Linked DNA regions of Homo sapiens: region 2 is linked to region 1. Evidence: promoter capture Hi-C in 16 types of primary human blood cells and fetal thymus (Javierre and others, 2016). All regions are on one chromosome and are shown on one strand. The core of a region is centred on a gene start or on the middle of the fragment in contact, and the rest is flanking DNA. Distances in the headings are between cores, read along the strand shown.

The links. The method cuts DNA at HindIII sites, captures the fragments that hold promoters and counts their contacts. A CHiCAGO score of 5 or more calls a contact.
Region 2: a contact is called between the fragment with the promoter of DAP here and the fragment with the promoter of NSUN2 in region 1, in 1 of 17 cell types (total CD4 T cells). The highest score is 8.6, in total CD4 T cells.

What each region holds. Positions count from the first base shown.
Region 1 is chr5:6,631,201-6,635,693 of GRCh38, reverse strand. It overlaps NSUN2 (NOP2/Sun RNA methyltransferase 2), which reads left to right and starts at 2,650. Exons shown (of 19, transcript NM_017755.6): 1 at 2,650-2,810; 2 at 2,938-3,095; 3 at 3,717-3,821. The coding sequence starts at 2,715. It overlaps SRD5A1 (steroid 5 alpha-reductase 1), which reads right to left and starts at 2,254. Exons shown (of 5, transcript NM_001047.4): 1 at 1,825-2,254. The coding sequence starts at 2,117. RefSeq lists enhancers at 1,531-2,042, 2,043-2,554 and a silencer at 2,018-2,407. The HindIII fragment of the contact is 4,632 bases long and covers 788-4,493 here.
Region 2 is chr5:10,759,006-10,763,498 of GRCh38, reverse strand. It overlaps DAP (death associated protein), which reads left to right and starts at 2,265. Exons shown (of 4, transcript NM_004394.3): 1 at 2,265-2,485. The coding sequence starts at 2,431. DAP-DT (DAP divergent transcript) reads right to left here and starts at 2,463. Exons shown (of 3, transcript NR_187555.1): 1 at 2,283-2,463. RefSeq lists silencers at 1,730-2,199, 2,280-2,709 and an enhancer at 1,362-2,207. The HindIII fragment of the contact is 9,246 bases long and covers 1-4,493 here.

The DNA.
Region 1 (4,493 bases), core at 1,401-3,900:
AGAGTACATGTCTGGATGTGCATTCACAGCAATGCAAAATAGTGCTAGGTATTGTGTACTGAGCACGCAGATGCGCCAGCACCATGCAAGCATTTTAGGGAGTTGCCTTTGCTCTAAATTCATGTGATCCCACAGGGGGGTTCCATCACCATGCCCATTCTACAGGTGGGGAAACCTTGCTGCGGGGCAGCTTAGTAACTCATCCAGGGTCATGACTGATGGGACTAGGATAGCACCGAATACTCTGACCTGAGATTGCTTTTAGCCATAAAGAAACAGACATACAGCTTCTGGTATATTTATGGAAAAGTATATACAAACAGCAAAGTCTGACTAATATTCAAATTGTAGCAATGGTTGATCCCATTCCAAAAAAAAAATAAAGCAATGGTAAAGAGTTTCAGGCACACAGTACTCACTAAGCCTCTGATGAATGTTGACTTGCCCTTGTTTAAAGTGCAAGTCATCAAAGCACACTGAGGACACAGACTGCACCAGTTACAGGGTAAGGTGCTGGTTTTCAGGGAACTCAGGTACCAAAAACTGTGCTGGGTACAACACTGGTTCCAAGTAGTGGAGCTGTGTACTTTCTCTTCGCTGGAATGCATGACACCAGGAGAAAGAAGAGAGGCTTATAAACACACACTGAGTTCTTCCTGTCTCTCTGGGAAGTGAGTGTTTTAAGGTGGGACCCCAAATCAGAAAGGTTGGGTAAACTGCCCATAGTCACACAGCCAGTGAGTTCAACTTCCTTGGGTGTAGAGACATCCTTTTTAACTGTGAAGCTTTCCAGAGCCTGAATGAAAACGTTTAAAATTTAATTTTGAACTTTCGACCTGTCGTTTGCTTTGGCTGTGTAAAAGCCAAAAGATACGACCTGGAGAGAACCCCAACTTATTAGAAGGCTTGAAGATTTCAGACACAGCCAGTTTTCAAATATTCAAAAAAACAAAAACCTTGAAAGATTTAGAAGTCATCTTTAAGACTTCGTTTGTTTAAGGTTTAAGGTTGCTGGCTTTCCACCCCCACAATCCTGGGGTCCCTTGCATAAGGTGGACATGAAAGTCTCTGAAAGTGATCAAGCCTATAAGGAGAAACTGCTAGGCAGTTTTAGGACAGCAGGTTTCCAGTTGCAGCTGATCACTTGGCTGGGAGAAAACAGCTCCACCATCACCAAAGATACCAAAAGGGGAACCGGCAGAAAGGAGTAGAAACCAGTGGCCCTCAAGACCGACCATCAGCATTAGACTCTAGGCCAACCCCCTCCCCCCCGCCCCCACAGTCGTGATCTAAGGGAACAAAATCTAGTCTTCATTTTTATTTTACATTTTTACTTTTTAACTCTTTATTTTTATATATTTAATTTTGAGACAGAGTCTCGCTCTGTCACCCAGGCTGGAGGGCAGTGGCGAGATCTCGGCTCACTGTAACCTCCGCCTCTCGGGTTCAAGCGATTCTTCCATCTCAGACTCCCGAGTAACTGGGATCACAGACAGGCGCCACCGCGCCCGGCTAAGGAAACCAAACCTAGGACCACTGAGTGGCTCTTTCCAGATCAGTTTCATCATGTTTTTTTCCATCACTCCCTTCCAGTCCTTTGTTTCCCGCCCTTTCCAGACGAATCCCTTCTGGTTTCCAAACTCCCGGGGCCGGGGGACTCGGGGAAGGGCACCCGTGCAGATGGGGGACGCCCCGGGGGATCTGGCAGGGAGAGGGCATCTGGGTGGGGGAGGCTTCGGGGAGAGGGCACCGGGCAGTGAGGGGAGGGTCGGAGAGGACGCCGGGCCGGGAGTAGGGTAGGGGGCCGGGGGCCGGGGACGTTACCGATGCCCGTAGTGGACGAGGAACATGGCCAGGAGGATGCAGTTGGGCGCGCTGCGGAGACGCGGGGCGGACTCGCTGGCGTACTGGTAGAGCGGCAGGGCCAGCGAGGGCAGCTCCTGCACCACCCAGGCGGCCCGCGCCGGCACTCGGAGCCTGTGGCTGGGCAGCGCGTGGCGGCCGTACACTGAGTTCGTCTGACGATTGCGCGCGAAGACCGCGCAGCCCACGGCGCACTGCAGGTAGGCGAGCGCGGCCAGCAGGCGCTCCTCCGCCACCCCCGTCGCCGTTGCCATCGCCAGGGCTGGGCAGCGTGCTCCATGCCCCAGAGGCCGCGGCGGGCAACATATAGGGCGGCGGCGCGGGGGCAGGAGGGGCGGCTACCGGAGGGGCGGCTACCGGAGTCCCGCACTGCCGGGACTCTGCAGAAAGGGTTCTCAAGTCAGGCTTCTCCGGGGTAGCCGGGGCTGTGGGTGCGGCCCCGGGGGCGGGGCGAGCACTTGCGCGGGGAGGGACCTGCAAGCGCCCCACCCACGCCGGGGCCGCAGTAACCCCGCGCCGCTCTGCGCACGCGCGGCTTCAGGCTGTCCGCGGAGCTCCTTGAGCCCGCGTGGGAAACCTGGGCGCTTCGCGCGGAGACGCCTTTGTGGCTGCTTCCTGGAGCATTTTTTTCCCCTTAGAGCTGTTCGCTGTTTTCCCTGTCACGCCGCTTTTCTGAAAGACGGGTTGTGCGCTTTGGGCTTATTCCTGGACGGTCCCCAAAGGTCCCCGAAAGGACCAGGCCCGGACACGTGGGGCCTTGGTTTCCGGCCGGAAGTCCCGGGAGGTGTAGGGCTAGAGTTCTGGCCGTGGCGGGCCGGTTTCTGCGTGCTGCGTGCGCGGCCGCGTGGGCTATGGGGCGGCGGTCGCGGGGTCGGCGGCTCCAGCAACAGCAGCGGCCGGAGGACGCGGAGGATGGCGCCGAGGGTGGTGGAAAGCGCGGCGAGGCGGTAGGAGCCGGGACCCGGCGGGCGGGCCAGGGGCTCCTCCTGGGCTTCCCGGACCCCGAGGCCTGCGAGGCGGCGGCGAGGGGGCGGCTCCTTGGGCCTCGGGGTAGACGTCTCTTTCCTTCCTCAGGGCTGGGAAGGAGGCTACCCCGAGATCGTCAAGGAGAACAAGCTGTTCGAGCACTACTACCAGGAGCTCAAGATCGTGCCCGAGGGCGAGTGGGGCCAGTTCATGGACGCTCTCAGGGAGCCGCTCCCGGCCACTTTAAGAATTACTGGTTACAAAAGGTAGGGAGGCAGTGCCTGATTTTTTGGGAGTTGGGGCCAGGATGCTGGAGGTTAAAGGCGACGGTGTTTTCTTCGACAAGTGTTACAGTGCCAGAGAACCGTGGCGTTTCAGCGGTTTGGATTCAGGAAGCATTGAGGTGGGGAGCACAGGGTCCAATGAAATGGTCACGGAGGTATTGCAGGCGCAAGGTTAGAAGACGAAATGAAAATGAGATCTGAGGAAGATTCGGCTCCTGGGGAATCTTCCAGGAGGGAAGCTGAGGGTCTTACCTTTTGGAACGTAAGAGAATTTATAGAGAATGCATAAAACCCCTTGGTTCTCCCCTCCTCCGCGCCCCCCCTCCATCTTTGTAGTTACATCTTTCTAAATGAGTCGCAAGTAAAACTTAACGGTAGGATATGCTTAGGAGAGAAGGAATGCAGTGTTGCTCTTAGGGCTCAAACAGTGTGGATTGCTTAAATTTTGAAGGCATACAGTGTAAAAGTAGTGACTAAAGAATGTTTACTCTCCATGCAAAAGTTGGTTTTAGTTTTAAAACACTTGCAGTCTTAAATTTAAGAAGATACAATGTATTAACTTAGTTTTTTAGATCAGTTTGAAACTTCCTTATTTTTCAATAGCCACGCAAAAGAGATTCTCCATTGCTTAAAGAACAAATATTTTAAGGAATTGGAGGACCTGGAGGTGGACGGTCAGAAAGTTGAAGTTCCACAGCCACTGAGTTGGTAGGTACCACAGTGCTTCATGCCGAATATTTATTTGGGATATTAATCTCTATCACTTGAATTATATTTCTTGGTACTGCATTTGCTGTTAAAGAGCTTGGGTATACTTTGCAAACATCCTAATGTTCTAGTACCTGGTGCTTTTATCAACATTATATTGCTACGCAAGTTTTCATGCGATTTGCGATTTGCAGCTTTATGAGTCACTGATTTCAGCCAGCTCTTCCTAGTACATCCAGCCTCTTCCTTTATGTCACCACTTCCGCCAGCTCCCTTTTACAGCCCTTGTTTTCTCACATCAAAACTGTTGCAGAGTGGCTGCTTTGCCTTCAGAAAAAGGACAGACTTAGCTTGACAACAGTCTCCTGGTAGGTAGTCTCTTAGTGTTTTCCATTACAGACAGGTTACCACTGTCTGCTGTCAGGTTGTCTCCTGGTACTTCGCAGTACAGACTGCACCAGCCAATGTAGCATTTCCGAGTCTCAGCACCCAAGCGTGCTACTACTCTGGGAGCTACCTCTTTCTTGACCTGTCCTGGAGGTGCCTTCTGGGTTACCTATTCCTCATGGCTCGGTTCTAGTCTCAGTTGTATGAAGGTGATCCCTTGTGCTGATAGCATCTTGTAAAGATGCTTGGAGAACTCCGGAGGCGCCAGTCCTTCAGTTAACTTAC
Region 2 (4,493 bases), core at 1,016-3,515, 4.1 Mb before region 1:
GGAAGTTACTCATGAAATTAATCAGTTAGGTATCCTTAAACCTTTAAGAACGTGAGTGATGTGCTATCTCTTTAAAGAGTAACCCAGTATTAATTTCAGGATTCTCTTCTAAACTGCTGGCACCCACTTGGAAGTTTGGATGTGAATGCAAGACAATGGCAAGCATATCATGACTGCAGCCTGGCCAACAATTATCCTATTACCGGTGTTGAAATGTGTGTATGGAGTGGGGAATGCAAGACCAATGTATGCTATGTGCATCTCCATGTGTGCCCTGATGCACAGAGTTGCGCAGCACTGAGTTAGACAACAAATAGAGAAGCCAAGGTGGCGGTGGTGAGTTTGGAGTTCAGTGGAGGGGCAGAAAGAGAGAAATTAAGTTGCAGATGTGGCACCCATAAGCGTCTGCAGGTGGTGGTGGTGGTGAGTCTGGAGTTCAGGGGAGGAGCAGAAATAGAGAAATGAGGTTGCAGATTTGGCACCTGTAAGCATCTGCATGATAGTCGTCCACAGGCTGCATGTGACTATCTATGGGAAGTCTAGATAGAGAAGAAGGCCAATGCTGAGCCTTGCGATACTCAAATGTTTATAAATCTAGAAGAGGGCGAACTGCCAAGCTGACAGAGTGAGCAGCCAGGGTGGCCAGAGAACTGGAGGGTAAGGCAGTGATGTGGCACCTCCGGAGCAAAGGAGGAGGGGGACGGCCAGCTGCATCAAGTGCTGCTAAGAGCTCAAATAGAATGAAAGTAGAAAATGACCATTGGATCTGGCAGCACATAGGTTATAAGTGACTTCCACAAAAGGACCTCCCATGGTTGAGGGCAGTGCAGCAGAACTTGATGAAAACCAGACAAACTGGACTGGAGGGAGTGACAAGAGATGAGGAGCTCAGCCTCCCTGAACAGTTTTGTTGTCAAAGGGAAAAGTACAGCCAAGCGAGGGGTGGTGTTTCCTTCGCTAAAGAGATTAGGCCTGTCTGAATGCGAATCCAGCAAGGCATTGCGGAAGTTAACAGCAGTTGCAAAACACTGGGGCAGGCGGGAAGAACACGATCCAAGGCACGAGAGCCAGGGGTCAGCCACGGCAACAGGAAGATGATGGTGAAAACCAAAAGTTTCTGAGAGTGGTCTCAATTTAGGAAGTTTATTTTGCCAAGGTTAAGGACGTGCATTGACACAACCTCAGGAGGTTCTGATGACATGTGCCCAGGGTGGCCAGGAAACATCTTGGTTTTATACATTTGAGGGAGACATGAGACATCAATCAATACGTAAGATGTAGGTTGGCTCTTTAGGAGGTAAAATGTGAAGTGGAGGCGTCCGGGTCATAGGTACATTTAAAGGTTTTCTGATTGGCAACTGGTTGAGAGTTATCATCTAAAGACCTGGACTCAGTAGAAGGGAATGTCCGGGTTGCATGAAGGAGTTGTGGAGACCAAGGTGTTATCATGCAGATGAAGCCGGGAATACACTGCAAATGTTTCTTATCAGAGTCCTCTATTAGTCTTAGGGTCTCCGTGCGGATGTTTGTGAGGCCATGTTTGACTTCCGCTTCCCATCAAGGCCTGAACTAGTTTTTCAAGATAACTTAGAAGGCCACAGGCGGAGGGGAGGGTCCATCCGTTGGCTGCAGGGCTTAGAATTTTATTTTTGGTTCATAACGAGGAGGGCAGGGACAGAAGCCACCGTCTCTGCTCCCCAGCGCTGGCCCTCACTCGGAAAGCAGGCTCTCCCCTCGCATCGTCTTTTAACAAATTCCTGCTCTCTCGGCCCCCGTCGCTGCCATCTGGGCTCTCCTTTCCGCGCTTCATTAGGCGCTGCCGCGGCAGGGGCTGAGGGCCTCAGGGGACGGTCGCCTCCCTGCCGGGACGCCCCGGCCCTGGCCCGCACTGTGGGGCGCAGTCACCCAGCCGTCGCCGCGTAGCCAGGAGCCCGGCTGAGCGCGTTCGCTGCAGGAGCCATCCTCAGCTGGGCCCTACTTAACTTTCCGCAACTCCAGTCCCCGCAGCCAGTCGGGGACCCCGCCTCCCTCTCCTTCCTTCTCCCTCTCACTTCTTCACCCCTTCTCTCCCCTCCCTCCTCCGCCCCCGCCCCCGCCCCCGCCCCCGCCCCCGGCCACAGCATCCGACGTGGCGCGGCCGGCTGCGCACGCACCGTATGCTTGGCTCGCGGCCCAGCAGGGCGGGCGGGCCGCGGTGACGTCAGTGCGCATGCCGTCGGTGGGCTCGGCTGCGCCACGTCGGCGCGCGGCGGCCGCGCCCCCTTAACGGCAGTGGCACTCACCCGGCTCGCGCGGCCCCGGCGCCCCACGCGCGCGCGTCGTTCTCCCGCCCGCTCGCTCCCCGGCGCTCACACCTGAGCTCACTCGCGCACGCCCGCCCGGCCCGAGAACCGCGCCGCCGCCTCGGCCCCGCGGAAGCCCCGCCGCGTCATGTCTTCGCCTCCCGAAGGGAAACTAGAGACTAAAGCTGGACACCCGCCCGCCGGTACTGACTCTTTTCCTCTCTCTCCACGCGCGGGTGCCGGGGGCGGGCTCGAACCCGGGGGCGCCGGGCGGGGGCTCCGCGGGGAGGGCCCCGGCGAGCGCTGAGACGGGTTCCGGGCCTTGATGCCCGCCCGAGGGGCGCGGGCCGCGGAGAGGTCGGGCGCCCAGGCCCGGGAGGAGCCCGCCGGAGCTTCGGCCCCGCTTGCCGGCGGCGGCGAAGCGTTTCTTCCTGAGGACCGCGGGCGGCCGCGTACCTGTGCGATTGCGCGCAGGCTCCGGTGCCTTGGGCGAACCCAGTTGCACAACTTATAACAAAGTTTTGGCGGATAATATTTACTTAGAGGATACAGATGTCTAGAAAGAAAGTAGCAGAAGCAATGAAAAGTCAGTGGTGTTAATATCATGGTGATGATTAATTAGAGGCTGCCAGCGTTTCATACCGACTCAAGAACCAAGGAGCGGAAATAATTTTTATCATTAATCACTCAATATGACTTTCACCGCCAGTTTCTTCCACATCCAGATTTTTTTTTTCCCCCAAAGTTGCTTTTTCTGATTTTGAGCAAATCCTAAACTTCTGAGCCAAGGAAGTTAAAGCCAGGAAAGAGCGGTCTTTCTTAGAACATAGGGATCTAAGCAGCCTTCATGCTTCTGCCACCTCCTCCTCTCTCTGGGCACAGTTCCTGTTTGCACTTTGGATTCTGTCCAGACGGGTCTGTTTCCGTTTCTACTCTCCTTTCCAGTGGCAGTCGGCCCATATGGAGGGACACTGGTGAGAAGATCAAAGGCCTTGGGTCTCAGAAGCCAAGTCACTTCAATGTATGGATGCGTGAGGTTCTTTTAGGTCTTAATAGCACGCCTTAGTGTCATAAACTCAGTCTTGTAGGAACAGAAGTCTTTGAGAAACATGGCTTCTTTTGGTGGCACATTTGCGCCATTTTCTTGACAATAAAGATTCCTGGCCAGGCGCGGTGGCTCATGCCTGTAACCCCAGCAGTTTGGGAGGCCAAGGAGGGTGGATCACTTGAGGTCAGGAGTTCAAGACTAGCCTGGATAACATGGTGAAACCCCATCTCTACTAAAAGTAGAAAAATTAGCTGGGCATGGTGGCGGGCGCCTGTAATCCCAGCTATTCAGGAGGCCGAGGCAGGAGAATGGCTTGAACCCGGGAGGCAGAAGTTGTAGTGAGCCAAGATTGAGCCAAAGCACTCCAGCCTTGGCGACAAAGCGAGCGAGACTCCATCTCAAAAAAAAAAAAAAAAAAAAAAAAGATTCCCATTATCCTTCTCTGCTGTCCTCCGCTATAGGGCGGGAATTCTCTGCACCAGCACAATGAATAGGAGCCGTTCTTTAAATATGTTGCAGTCCAGAGTAGGCAATATTTTTCAGTGGTGACGGAGGCTCTCTACAACAAAACTAACTGGCACTGGGAAAGAAAAATGTCTAACTGATGCCAGAGAACTTAAGAGGCATGGGGTTTTAGAAAATCATTCCACTGTGATGGAAAATGGTTTTGGGGGAATTTGTGTTGCATTGGTTTTAAGAAAAAAAGTACTTCAAAGGGAGTTTTTTTTTTGATGGGATTTCTTTTAAGGATAACTGACTTCCATTCCACCACAGCGGGTCCCTGTCCACTGTGGGGAGGAGCGCCTTGATTTCCACCCCGGGCAGGGCTGCCTCCAGGAACTGCAGCAGCCACCTGCTCTGGCCCTCCACTCCCCAGGACATGGGTTACATTAAAGCGTATCTGTTGGAATGATACAGAACCAAAGTACAGTAATTAAATTGCATACAGAGACACACCCATAAAGAAGTTTTTTGTTTTGTTTTTTGAAACAGAGTCTCACTCTGTCACCTGGGAGTGCAGTGGCACGATCTTGGCTCACTGCAACCTCCGCCTTCTAGGTTCAAGAGATTCTCCTGCCTCAGCCTCCCGAGTAGCTGGGTTTACAGGTGCCTGCCACCACACCTGGCTGATTTTTGTATTTTTAGTAGAGACCGGATTTTGC